Regions from separate parts of the Homo sapiens genome. Here all the other regions are linked to region 1. The links are contacts of gene promoters, found by promoter capture Hi-C in blood cells and fetal thymus (Javierre and others, 2016). All regions are on one chromosome and are shown on one strand. The core of a region is centred on a gene start or on the middle of the fragment in contact, and the rest is flanking DNA. Distances in the headings are between cores, read along the strand shown. Region 1 holds the start of KRT23 (keratin 23). Region 2 has its middle 8.0 kb from the start of KRT37. Region 3 holds the start of KRTAP9-3 (keratin associated protein 9-3). Region 4 has its middle 15 kb from the start of KRTAP9-2.

Evidence for each region. Contacts are between HindIII fragments. The CHiCAGO score rates a contact against its expected background, and 5 or more counts as called.
Region 2: a fragment that was not itself captured here is called in contact with the fragment with the promoter of KRT23 in region 1 in 1 of 17 cell types (endothelial precursors); the score reaches 5.6 in endothelial precursors.
Region 3: a fragment that was not itself captured here is called in contact with the fragment with the promoter of KRT23 in region 1 in 1 of 17 cell types (endothelial precursors); the score reaches 5.7 in endothelial precursors.
Region 4: a contact is called between a fragment that was not itself captured here and the fragment with the promoter of KRT23 in region 1, in 1 of 17 cell types (endothelial precursors). The highest score is 8.0, in endothelial precursors.

What each region holds. Positions count from the first base shown.
Region 1 is chr17:40,935,850-40,939,276 of GRCh38, reverse strand. KRT23 (keratin 23) reads left to right here and starts at 1,631. Exons shown (of 9, transcript NM_015515.5): 1 at 1,631-1,931; 2 at 2,324-3,069. The coding sequence starts at 2,674. The region is part of intron 1 of LOC107985072 (a long non-coding RNA gene); the gene reads right to left. The HindIII fragment of the contact is 1,536 bases long and covers 542-2,077 here.
Region 2 is chr17:41,430,835-41,434,261 of GRCh38, reverse strand. No RefSeq gene overlaps it. Among named protein-coding and RNA genes, the nearest start is that of KRT37, 8.0 kb to the right of the region's middle. The HindIII fragment of the contact is 2,364 bases long and covers 735-3,098 here.
Region 3 is chr17:41,230,665-41,234,091 of GRCh38, reverse strand. KRTAP9-3 (keratin associated protein 9-3) reads right to left here and starts at 1,643. Exons shown (of 1, transcript NM_031962.3): 1 at 638-1,643. The coding sequence starts at 1,590. The coding sequence ends at 1,111. The HindIII fragment of the contact is 5,484 bases long and covers 1-3,427 here.
Region 4 is chr17:41,210,316-41,213,742 of GRCh38, reverse strand. It overlaps the pseudogene KRTAP9-12P. Among named protein-coding and RNA genes, the nearest start is that of KRTAP9-2, 15 kb to the left of the region's middle. The HindIII fragment of the contact is 303 bases long and covers 1,590-1,892 here.

The sequences.
Region 1 (3,427 bases), core at 382-2,881:
ATGGGAAACCATCATATAACAGTACTAGAAGAGACTATTTCTCCCCAGTGCTCTCAGATCTCACCACCAGTTTTTCCTGGCCCTGGTCCTGCTATGACACAAGAAATCTTTTGCTCAAGGATAAGTCCTATAAATCAAAACTCCCACACATGGACATAAAATGAGACAGTGGCCAAATCTATGGGGTTGATAAGTCACTGCCACTCAGACATGCCTGAAATAATTAGAGAAGCATTAATTTCATTGTAGATTCTGGTGAGAGAATTTAGAAAAAGGCAGTGCAGCCCGGCCCTTGCACATGCTAAAGGTAAATGTTTTCTTCCTTGGTAAGTCTGGGTCCAGGCGAACAGGAACCAGAGCTGACCATAACTTTGATGACCAGGAACCGTCCACATCCACAGAACACTGGTTGCCACCACTCGCCAAACAAGTCTCTCTAGTTCCCTCATTTGCTCTATTTTTATCACTTGTCTCTTTTGTCTTTTTCTCATATCTGAGATGTAAGTGACTGTCGGCACTCTTTCTAAGCACTCTCCAAGCTTCCCTGAGGCTTGGAGGCTCATTTTTCCAGCTCGTGCACAGTGAAATAAAAAATATTCAGAGACTCTTCCCTGATAAGGTTTTGTTGTAAGACTGGGAGGAGCAGAGCTGGTGTGCTTTTGGGTGGCTTTATTTGTAATTGGAAAAGATTGGCCTTCATGGATGGTTAATCTATACCCAGGAGAGGCGTTTTCCTACTTTCTAGTTCTATAACTCACAGTCCTAAAAGGAGCAGAAGTTGATGGCATCAGGAGACCTGTGTTAAAATCCTGACTCTAAAAAGTTTATGATTGAGTCAACATACATTTGCAAAATACCACCAAGAAACCAGACTTTGGTGCTCAAAAATGGAAGACATAAACTCTGCTTTCAAGAAGCCTGCGGTCTCAGAAGGGTGTGGCAAATGCAGTATAATGGAGTGAAAGAACGGAGTGGACTTCATCCCAGGCACAGGAGGTGGCTGCGCCTGGCTAGGGGCTCCCAGCTTCCACCATGAGGTGGGATGCCAAGGTGTCTGCCCCTCTGGAGGACCTCGGCATCCAGAAGAGGCAGTTTCCTCCTAGAGGGTCACCCAACTCATGCAGGAGAATTCAGAAAATGATTGTTGAAGGAGGTAGCCCTTGAACTATAGAAGAGGTAGGGGTGAGTGACTTTCCAGGCAGGGAGGACAGCACAGACTCGGGCAGTGTCACCTATGAATTCATGTGCTCAATTACACTGTACATGCGAATCAGCTCTGGATCATTCATCCCTATGAGACCCTGATTCTTTGTCTGCAAAATGAAGACAACAACCCTTGCCTGGATACATAAAGAGTTGTGAGGATTCAATAAAGAATATAAAAGAGCTACACCAATTGGCAAGTCCTATTATTATGAAAGAGAAGTGTGGTACAGGACCTGTCAAGATTCAACCCAAGATAACAGTGCTATGTGGAGAAAGAATCTAGCCCTGGCTCTGCCACTAACCTCCCCACCACCATAGGCCTCAGCTTTCCTCATCTGTCCAATTAGTGGCTTGGAACCAGAAAGGCCAGAAGCCCTTCCTGCGCTGATATTTTATTTGTAAGTCCCCTTTAAATCCAACTGCCAGTAACTAGCACGTGGCTCCCGCCCCCAGACTGCTTCTTTATTCATTCCTAACCTTTACCTTGGCAGATGAAATATAAGATTCATCAACCACATTTGACAGCCCATGGCAGGTTTCCTGTTTTCCATCGTCCCTCTGCAGGTCACAGACACACAGAGCCCAGCCGTGGCAGGCTCAGCCGGGGTCCGGGGCTGCTAACAACGGCTACATTCCTCCCCCAGGGCCAAGGGAAATCCTGAGCGCAGGCCAGGGTTGTTTGGTTTTGAGGTGTGCTGGGATGAAAGGCACCCTGGAAGTGGAAGGTTCGGTCATTCATTAATTAATTACATCTATAATTGAGGGTTTGTTCTTAAGAGCGAGTCCTTTGAAAGTACTTTCCTTCAAACAGTGACTGCCACAAAGGCATCAGATATTCACCACCTTCTCGGCTGCCTCAGCACAGCAAGCTTTATTCTGGGACCTGAGATCCTGTTCTGAGCTGGCTTTCCCTTCTCCAGGCTCGCTCACCCTCCCTTTAGAGGTGGGGCTTATTGGGGGTGGAAAAAGGTGTGTGTATCTCTGTTGTTTAATGTCTGGTTTTTTGTTGCTGTTGTTGTTGTTTTGTTTTGGTTTTGGTTTTTGGTTTTTTTTAAGGAAATCTATACTACATCGAATATGCTTTCTTTTGGGTGGACTTTAACCTAACCCATTCCAGGTAAATGAACAATGGAAAAACTTCACGGCAAGATTAGAAAGATACCTGAGCCCAATACCCGCCTGATGTCGTGGGCCACACCTCCGGGTTACCAGGGGAAGGGAGGAAGCAAACTGTCATATTGATGTGGCTCTAAACAACAACAGTGTGCGAAGGCCCAGGGGCACTTTGGGATTGACCAAGAGGAAACACAAGTTGCACAATGATACAATCTTGTTGGTACAATTGTCAGAGAAGGGAACTCCCACAGCAAAGGCCATAAAACCATCCAGGGCAGTCTGGGGCGGCTCAGTTCTGCGGTGCCAGGGAGTGGAGCAGAGCTCAGCCCCGTCCCAAACACAGATGGGACCATGAACTCCGGACACAGCTTCAGCCAGACCCCCTCGGCCTCCTTCCATGGCGCCGGAGGTGGCTGGGGCCGGCCCAGGAGCTTCCCCAGGGCTCCCACCGTCCATGGCGGTGCGGGGGGAGCCCGCATCTCCCTGTCCTTCACCACGCGGAGCTGCCCACCCCCTGGAGGGTCTTGGGGTTCTGGAAGAAGCAGCCCCCTACTAGGCGGAAATGGGAAGGCCACCATGCAGAATCTCAACGACCGCCTGGCCTCCTACCTGGAGAAGGTTCGCGCCCTGGAGGAGGCCAACATGAAGCTGGAAAGCCGCATCCTGAAATGGCACCAGCAGAGAGATCCTGGCAGTAAGAAAGATTATTCCCAGTATGAGGAAAACATCACACACCTGCAGGAGCAGGTAAGATGCTGGGTGACCCTGGAGATCCAGATGGGGCTGCTTTGCCAGGGGACCCTCGGGAGGAAAAATGAGTCCAGAAGACAATTTCCAGGAAAATGGCATCAGCGCTTGAAGTAATTGTGCACAAAGGTTTTGGGGGATGTTTTCTTATTATATCTTAAATTTGGAGTGGGAAACGTCTGTTTTGTTTAATTAGTCTACTGTCCATGGATAATGTAGAAAAAGAAGGCAGCAAAAATGATAGAAGTGCTACAGACTGTTTCAAAAATGAGACTACTGATTTCTCACAGACCAAAAACATCTTTAAAATGTGAGGCAACCAGCTGCTGTTTAATGTCACTTATGACCCAACGATGTC
Region 2 (3,427 bases), core at 667-3,166, 490 kb before region 1:
AATATCAGTGTCTGAGAAGGGTTAAACACTGGCTCTTGAAGGCAGAGTATGTCATTAGCAGAGAAGAGCTCTTCCCAGTGATGTAAAAGTAAATGAGCTCGCTCTTCTCTTTCCAGAGATTGCCTGCACGAGTGGTGGGATGAGGCAGCTGTGGGCTTTAAGGCAGCCAGACAGCCAATTTATATAATTCTCTTCTTTTCATAAAAGGACATGGGTTAAATGCAAAGTTAAATGTGATCTACCTTTGAATGCTCTGTAGGACTTTTCATATAAATATATTTTTAGATGAAAACAAGTCTTGCCTTAATTCTGACTTGATTTAGCACCACGGAGTTTAGAAGTCAGGGATTTTGTATCATTGGTGCAACATGCTATGGTTTGGCTTTATACTATGTCTATTCATGTACGCATGCAGGCATTCCCTCAGCACACAGTTACTGAGAATCACCATGCACGTGATACTGTGGAGGATAATACTGAGTATGACTTGCTCCAGAGCTGAGCTCATTTAGTCACTTCTGTTTTTATCGATTGAGTGCTTTGTTATGTCAGGTGATGTACTGGGAATTACAGAGATGAACAAGACAAAAGCAGTAAGACAAAATTCCTGCTTCCAAGGGACTTTCAAGAACACTAACAACAGAATGAAGAGGGTTACATCAAGGTAAACTAAGGGTCAATGTGAGTAGAGAGAAGAGGAATTGATTGAATGCTCAGTGAAGCTGGAGAAAGCTTCCCCTTGAAGGCATCTCTTGAGCTGAGAAATATAAAATCACCTTTCAAAATCAGAGTATTCAATACTACTGGATTTTTTTTTTTTTGAGATGGAGTATTTCTCTGTTGCTTAGGTTGGAGTGCAGCAACGCTACCTCGGCTCACTGTAACCTCCACTTCCCGAGTTCCAGCAATTCTCCTGCCTCAACCTCCAGAGTAGCTGGGACTACAGGCATGTGCCACCATGCTGAGCTAACTTTTGTATTTTAGTAGAGATGGGGTTTTGCTACTACTACTACTGCTACATGTTGGCCAGGCTTGTTTTGAACACCTGACAGGTGATCTGCCTGCCTCAGCCTCCCAAACTGCTGGGATTACAAGTGTGAGCCACCAGGCCCAGCCACAATACTATTGTATTTTTAATGAAGAAAATGAAACAGGGTTGTCAGTATTTCCCTATTTTACTGCACGTAATTCATGAAGTGGGCCAAATAAATAGTTCTACAATGACTTATTCAGAATTTATTATTTTCCCTAATTCCTAAATCATTCACTCTTCAAGTTCCCATGATTATGCTTTTCTCCTTTCTACTAACTGCACCTTTGCCCCATGATCATCCACAGCTTAACACCCATAGGAAATGGTCCCCTGAGAGACACAGAGGAATGGATTGAGGGGACATTGAGGGGAAATCCATAGGCTGAAGGAGGCACAAAACAGCAGAGATGGCTCCTGGCCTAACACCCCAAGGACTTCTATAGGGTACCCTTATATTTTTTATCCTTATACTTCTGTCTATGTAAGTATGTCTATAGGATTAAATTCCTATAGGCGGAAATTATTGGTCGATAGTGTATATGTGGGCATGGTGGCTCACACCTGTTATCCCAGCACTTTGGGAGGCCGAGGCGGGTGGATCATGAGGTCAGGAGATCGAGACCATCCAGGCCAACATGGTGAAACCTCGTCTCTACAAAAAACACAAAAATTAGCTGGGCATGGTGGCATGTGCTTGTAGTCCTAGCTACTCAGGAGGCTGAGGCAGGAGAATTGCTTGAACCCGGGAGGTGGAGGTTGCAGTGAGCTGAGATCATGCCACTGCATCCTAGCCTGGCAATATAGTGAGATTCCGTCTCAAAAAAAAAAAAAAAAAAGCATTTGTAATTTTAACAGATACTGCTGAACTATTTTGTAAAGAGGTTGCACAACTTATTCTTCCCCTCAACAGTGTATGAAAGTGCATGTTTTCTTTATTTTGCTACAATCATGACATTAATCTATTTTGTTTTATTTTACTTTATCATAGAAAGAACACCTAACATGAGAGCTACCCTCTTAATAAAATTTTAGGTGTACAATAAATTACTATGGACTCTGGGTACAATGCAGTACAGTAGATCTCTAGGCCTTACACATCTTGCTTGACTGGAACTTTATGTTCATTGAACAGTAACTTTCCATTTCCCCTTTTCCCACAGCCTCTGGAAACCACCATTCCACTCTTTGATTCTATGAATTTGCCTATTTTAAATACCTTGTATAAGCAGAATTATGCAGTATTTGTCTTTCTGTGATCGGCTTATTTCATTTAGCATAATGTCTTCAGGGTTGAATCTATTTTAGATACCTCATATAAGCAGAATCATGCAGTATTTGTCTTTCTGTGATTGGCTTATTTTATTTAGCATAACGTCTTCGAGGTTTATTCACGTTGCGTATTGCAGAATTTCGTCCTTTTTAAAGGCTGAATGGAATTCCAGTGTTTGCACATACCAATTTCTTTTTGTATTTATCTGTCAACGGACATTTAGGTAGTTTCCACATTCTGGCTATTGTGACTCCTGCTGCAATGACCACAGGAGTGTTAACATCTCTTTGAGATCCCAATTTCAATTCTTTTGGATAAATACCCTGAAGTGAGATTGTTGGCTCATATGGTAATTCTATTTTTAATTCTTTGAGGAATCTCCATACTGTTTTCCATAGTGGCTGCGTCATTTTGCATTTTCCCAACAGCGTGCAATGGTTCCAGCTCCTCTATATCCTCACCAATACTAGTTGTCTTTTTTTTTTTTTGATAGTAGCCATCCTGAGTGGTGTGAAGTGATGTCTCATGGCTTTGATCTGCATTTCCCTTATGGCTAGTGACTTTGAGCATTTTTTCATATACCTGATGGCCGTTTGTACGTCTACTTTAGAGAAATGTCTATAGAAATCCTTAGCCCATTTTTAAATTAAAAAAAATTATTTTTTACAGTTGAGTTGTAGGACTTCCTTATATATTTTGGAGGCTAACCCTTTATCAGATATATGATTTACAATTCTTTCTCCCATTCAGTAGGTTGTATTTTCACTCTGTTGTTTCTTTTGCTGTGCAAAAGCTTTTTAGTAAGACTAAACTTCTGATCTTTGCTAACTTAAATAAGTAAAAAATAAGTAATTTAATAAGCATTTTTGAATTATGAATGGTGTAAGCATGTAAACACACCAGTAACAGTAAAATCCATTAAAAAACACAACACTTATTTAGTGCTTACCATGTACTCTGTGCTAGACACTATTTTACGTGATTTACAGGTATGGATTTTTTTAAAACTTAAATCCATTAGCTAGGTGCTATTGTCACTCCATTGTGCATAAGCAGAATTTGAGGCACAGAGAGGTCAAGTCACCAGCCCAAGTTCACACAGCTAATAAATGATAGAACCAGAA
Region 3 (3,427 bases), core at 261-2,760, 290 kb before region 1:
TGGTCTGTATTTTACAATGAATAACTTAGTTTCATTTACTTTGTCAATTGGTATTCAGGAGACCGATGCTGTATAAGAATTTTATTTACATCACACTGAGAATAAGTTTCTTCAGATGAGGCTCCGTCTCCTGAGTCCACAATAAATTCTCAAGCATTTTTTGATGCAGATGAATTGAATGAATGGCTGGTCAGAGGCTCAGACAAAAAGATCTCTGCATTCAGGGCAGCCATTAAATGCATATCATGCAGCCTTTGCTCACTGAGGTGTGGGGAACTACTTTGGGATTTTTTTGTGTGTGAACAAAAGTGTTATCTGCAAATATGTCAGATTATTCCTCTCATTGTTAAATAAACTCAAGTACATGTCTTGCTAGTGCTGACTTCCAGTGTCTTTTCTACTATATTGGGAGTTAAACGTAAGTGTCCTTGGGCAGAAAGAGAGGACCTCACCTTTGACCAGAGTCTGCCCTTTACTAGCTACATAACATCACACATTAAATTGTTCTCAGCTGAAAAAATGGAGTTAATAATACACGACCATCTGTTTTGAGAATCAAATTGGATAATACCTATGGTATGTGATATGTGTGTAAATCCCATATCAGGAATGCTTTCAAATAAAACAAAACACTATATGAGATGAAGATGGTTCAGAGTTTATTCAGAAACATATAGGTAAGAATCTCTGCTACCAGAGACATAACCCAAAGTTATCGTGAAAAGAAGAAAGAAGGATACAAGAACCATGAGAAGGATATTTAAAATGAAAATATAATTGCAAAGATGATTGATCAGTTGCAGAAACCTAAATTCCTTAGAAGCAAAGAATGAAGCTCTTGATTTTTGAGACAAAGCTGAGATCATGACTCCAAATTAAGAACAGACGAAGCTGGCACATGATCCACAAGGTGTAAGGAAAGAGGGAATGAGGATGAAGTATTCTGCCCTCCCTCAAGCAGATTCCCAAGATTTTAAACATGTAGAGAATTCATAAAAATTTGGGTGAGAGCATGGTGGCTGTCAGCAGCAAAGTAAATTAGTCCCTCAAAAGACAAGTCAGTTGAGCTGAAGGTTGTTGTGTGAGGATGGTAGTTCTCTTGGGAGTTGATTAGCAGCAAGAAGGCTGGCAGCAGCTGTACACACAGGTGGGCTGGAAACAAGTGGTCCTGCAGCAGGTGGTCTCACAGCAGGCTGGGCGGCAGCAGGGCTGGCAGCAGTTGGAGCCACAGCTCTGGTTTAGGCAACCAGGCAGACAAACACTTGTGGGGTGGTAGCAGGTTCTTCTGCAGTACACAGGTGCACAGGAGCTGCTCTGACCACAGCTGGACCCACAGCATGTGGGCTGGCAGCAGGGTGTGCTACAGCAGGAAGGCTGGCAGCAGCTGGTCACACAGATGGGCTGGCAGCAGGTGGTCCTACAGCAGGTGTTTTGACAGCAAGTTGGGTGGCAGCAAGGCTGGCAGCAGCTGGAAACACAGCAGGAGGGCTGACAGCAGGGTGTGCTGCTGCAGGTGGTCACAGTGGTGGGCTGCCAGCAGGTGGTCCTGCAGCAGGTAGGCTGACAGCAAGGGGAGCAACAGTGGGTCATGGTGTCAGGGATGGAGGGTGGGCTTCTGTTAAGAGGTGAGTTTCCCAAAATCTGATGACCCCTTGCAATCTGGACCTTTTATACACCTGGCCTCCAAAGTTTCCACCAATCAGCAGGACTTTTCCTTGTTGCTGTTTACATTGTTTTCCACAGTCCATTTGGGATTGTCAAAGGGGAAGTTGTTACTGAAATCTTATGAACCTTTTAAACTAAGGGTTTAATCTGTTTCTTAATTGTGAGTTACTCATAGAAAGTTTGTTTCAGATAAAAGGAAGCCCGTCTCATCATCAGCATCATTCCTGCTCTGACCATCATCTGGTCATGTGACAGTTCCTGTTGATCCGGGGGGCTCAGGAAGTTCTCTCTGGCCAGCCTCATGTTTGGCTGTATATAGACTTGGAAGTGTCTGTGGGGAGAAGCATGATGCTGATATATTTACAGTGACAAAATGAATCCATGCCTGGGCCCAAGACTATTCACCCACCAAATTCTGACTCAAGACTAACAGGCATCTCTTTGTGCCACCCACATCATCTGTGTCTTTCAGTTCTTTGAATGTCACTTGGGAAGACGGTGACTGCACAGTGTGTTCCATGCGACAGAGCAGATCGAGAACAGGTGGATGCAGAGAAATCTGCTGAGATTTAGACAGCATCAAGCAATGTATGCCCTAGGACGACCATTCATTCTGACTTGTCTGGGAGTGTGGGGATTTCCGGGATGAGAATGGAGGACTTTCTATCACGTAACTTCTTGAGATTCAGGCCAACCAGCATGTGCTCTGGCTCTAGCCCTAAACCTAGTTACTAGCAGTAACTAGAAGTAAGCGTTGAAATTCAGGCCAACCAGCATGTGCTGTGGCTCTAGCCCTAAACCTAGTTACTAGCAGTAACTAGAAGAAGAAGTAAGTAGAAGTAATTTCTTCTATTTCTTTTCAATGAAGGGATTAGATGAGTTGAGATGACACCTGATTCATCGTGGAGTTCTAACATGTTGAAAACATTGTCTAGGTATATCATTCACTTGAGAAGAATGCAAATTATTAATTTCCAACCTGATATAGTATTACATTGTAAATACATCTATGTCCCCATTACCAGGTTAGGAAATAGAAATTAATGCCATTCTCTCCCAATTATATCCGCTTACTCATTTCCAAACAGCTAATCACTCTATCAAGTTATAATCCAGTAGATGACTTTGGCTTTTTAAAATTTCCATGTGAATAAAAATTATAGTATTTGCTTCTCTGTTTCTTTGTTATAATCAAAAGGAATCGTTATCGCCTAGTCATTTTGGACTCTTCCCGTCAGCAGAGCAGCAGACAGAGAAAGGAGTTACTATTTGGTGAGGGGTAATTATCTTTAAGCCATATAGTGTAGCAGAATATATCTATAGCTCAGGATACTTAGTAAGTGTATTAACTTACCAGCACTGCCATAATAAATTACTGTAAACCAAGTGGCTTAAATTTATCTTTTCACAGTTCAGAAATTAAGGTTTTGGCAATGTTGTTTTCATCTGAAGCCTGTGAGGGAAGTACATGTTCCAGGTCTCTCTCCTTGACTTGTTGATGTCTATCATTTCCATGTGTGTTTGATATAATTTTTCTGTTATATGCATGCTGTCTCTGAATTTCCCCCTTTTATATAGACATCAGTCATATTTAATCAGAGGCCTAATTGTTTCCAATATGACCTTGCCTTATCACATAACACTTTAAATGATTCTATTTGAATATGAGTTTTGGGGGACACAAATTAACCCATAACACTGGAGAATCTCATAGTGTGTCCATGTCCAGTGATAACTACAAATCGGTAAGAACAGCAATCAC
Region 4 (3,427 bases), core at 492-2,991, 270 kb before region 1:
AATTTGTTAACAAGAAGATGACTGACAGTTTAGTGACAGTATGTATGTTATCAGCAGAGGAAGTGGAGTGAGTTTGCCATAGAAATGGATATCTGGCCTGGGCGTGGTGGCTCATGCCTGTAATCCCAGCACTTTGGGAGGTCAAGGCGGGTGGATCATCTGAGGTCAGGTGTTTGAGACCAGCCTGACCAACATGGAGAAACCCCATCTCTACGAAAAATACAAAATTAGCTGGGCATGATGGCGTATGCCTGTAATCTCAGCTACTCGGGAGGCTGAGGCAGGGGAATGGCTGGAACCCAGGAGGTGGAGGTTGCGGTGAGCTAAGATCATGCCATTGCACTCCAGCCTGGGCAACAAGAGCGAAACTGGGTCTCAAAAAAAAAAAAAAAAAAAAAAAGAATAAATGGATACCTGGCTGGTCTGATGATGGAAGTTTATTCTATGCAGGTAGTAATCTGTGGTAAGTTGATCAATAACTGCAAGGCTGGCAGCCCCTAGACACACAACAGGCTGATTGGCAGCAGGGCTAGCAGCAGCTGGATCCATAGCTCTGGTTTAGGCAACCTGTCAGGCAGACACACATGGGGTGGTAGCAAGTTCTCCTGTAGTAGATGGGTGCACAGAAGCTGGGCTGGCAGCAGCTGGACCCACTGCCAGTTTGGCCGTAACAGCTGGACCCACAGCAGGTGGGCTGGCAGCAGGGTGTGCTGCAGCAGGAAGACTGGCAGCAGCTTGTCACACAGGTGTACTGGCAGCAAGTGGTCCTGCAGCAGGTGGCCTCACAGTAGGCTGGGCAGCAGGCAGCAGGGCTGGCAGCAGCTGGATCCACATATCTGGTCTAGGCAACTAGGCAGGCAGACACACATGGAATGGTAGCACGTTCTCTGGTAGACGGGTGCACAGCAGCTAGGTTGGCAGCAGGATGTGTTGCAGCAACTGGGGGGGTGGCAACAAGACTGGCAGCAGCTGGACACACAGCAGGTGGTCCTGCAGCACGTCGTAGGCTGGCAGCAAGGGGAGCAGCAGTGGGTCATGGCGTCAGGGGTGGAGGGTGCACTCCTGTTCAGAGGTGAGTTTCCTAGAGTTTGATAACGTTATTCAATCTGAACCTTTTATACATGGTACCCCAAAGTTTTGATTAATGAGCAGAACTTGTCTTTGATACTTCTCTAGTCTTTTGGGAAATGTCCCAAGGAGGAAGTTGTCTATTCAGTGCTGTGAATTTTCTTTGAGTAATTGATTTATTTGCTTTCTTAATTGACAAATAACCAGTCAGGACTATTTTCCTGAACTGAGAAATGAATCATTCTCCCTACCAATTAAGCACTGATCCTCATTTTTAAAGCTGAGTACAGTATTTGGTCATCTAACAGGTCCTATGTAGCTTAGTGAGATGTCAGGACAATTGTTAGTCACCATCTGTTTTTCCTTATTGCTATTTACTTTGGAAAGTACCTCTGAAGATAGGATGATGTTGAGTCATGGTGATGAGTTAAAAACCAAGTTTAGGGAGGGCTTGTGATGCCACCTGTAATGTAGAAGCTAGTATAAGATTTATCCTCCTGCTATAAACAATAATAAAAGCTTTGTAAATATATAAAACAACTGTTTGCAGATATTGGATGACAATCAGCTTTGGGTTATGATCCTTGAAGGAAGACACATGGGGTAAAAAAAGAAACACATGGGTTTGTATGTTTTCAAAATTGCTGCTGCAGCACATCCTGCTGCCAGTCCACCTGCTGCAGCAGCTGCAGCTGTTATGGCCAAATGCCAGAAGAAATAGAGTCCACATAGAGAGCAGAGGAGAGATAGGCGTTAAAGGGGTTTATCACAATTCCTTCTCTCAGTCTGAAATGTGATTTTTGATGGTTAAGTTTTCTAAAGCTTTATCCAGTTAAAATTATCAGTCATTTCTTTTCGAATAATAATATTTTTGTCTTGGTCAGGAGGTATTTATCTACCTAAAAATAAAAAAAATCACATAAATCATCTAGTGAGGATTTAAGATTTTTTTTGACCTTCAAGATATTGATACACCTGGAATTGATTTTTTTCCTACATGATGAGTGATCAGAATCCAAGTTCATCTTTTCCATGTAAATACTTTTCCATGTAAATACTGGAAACAGGTTTGATTATGATTCCTTTGATTATGGAACATTTTCAGCTTTATTGCTGGATATGTTCTCATTTTCATCCAGAATATTATTTATTTGTGTCTTCTTTACATTTCTTGATCAATCTTTTCAATGGCTTATCATTTATTGGTATTTTTTTTGAAAAAGAAATTTTGGCTTTGTTCATCTTCTCTGTGATGTCGTTTTTAACTAGTTCATTGATTTACATTTTATGCTATTTTGGTTGTTTTCCTTTTTCTTATTCACTTAGGTGAACACTTAGTTCATTTATTTTTAGGTTTTATTCTTGTTTAATATTTAAATATTAAAGGCTATTTAAAGTGTGTACATTTTATCAAAGATCATTTTATAACACCCCACAAGTCTTGATATGTAATATTTTCATTATAATTGAGTTACACATTTTTTCCTTAACATTAGAGATTCTTCCATTTTGGTCTTCCAAGTCAGTATATCTTCTGCAGCTTATCTCACTTATTGTGTACTTTAATGACTATATGCTCTATTATTAATTTAGTATCAGATATTATGCCTGCTTGTGTCTCCTACCCCATTATACATGTTTGTTTTTATTAATTTTTCATTTTGAAATAATTTCATACTCATAGAAAATTGTAAACACAGTACAAAGGATTCCCATATGCCTTCACTTGGATTCCTCAAATGTTAACATTTTACCATGCTTCTTTAACATTATTTCTATACATATATGTGTTACTACTGTTGGTTTTTAAAAGTAAGTTGCAGATAGAATTTCCCTTTATCACTAAATACCACTTTATCCCTATGTACTTCAGTGTGTGTTTCTTGTCACAGCCCAATGATCAAAACCAAAATGTTAATGCCGTTGCAGGATAGTCTCTGGTTGGTTCTTATTCATGTTGTGTGTGTGTGTGTTTTTGTATTTGTCTATATTGGTAATAGCTTCCTTTATGTCTTTAAATGCATTTATTATGTTTAGTTAAAACCCAGTTGAAGATTTGCTGACTGGGAAGATGGAGTGGACAGACTTTTCCATATTCTTTCTGCTAAGTACAACTAAAAATTCTGGATATTATATATAAAGCAAACACGAGAGGACTCTGAAAGGTGGAGTGAAGAAAGCAGCCAGGCTAGAAGCCTCAGGACTTAAGGAACAATAAGGTGGGGTTCTCTGGGTTTTCTTTGTGCTGCAAGTACCCCCCAGACTTGGAGCTTGAGAAGCCTGTAACTCTGAAACTCTAGTGGATGCACACACACACACACACACACACACACACACAGTTCCAATAAATGCTTCTCTC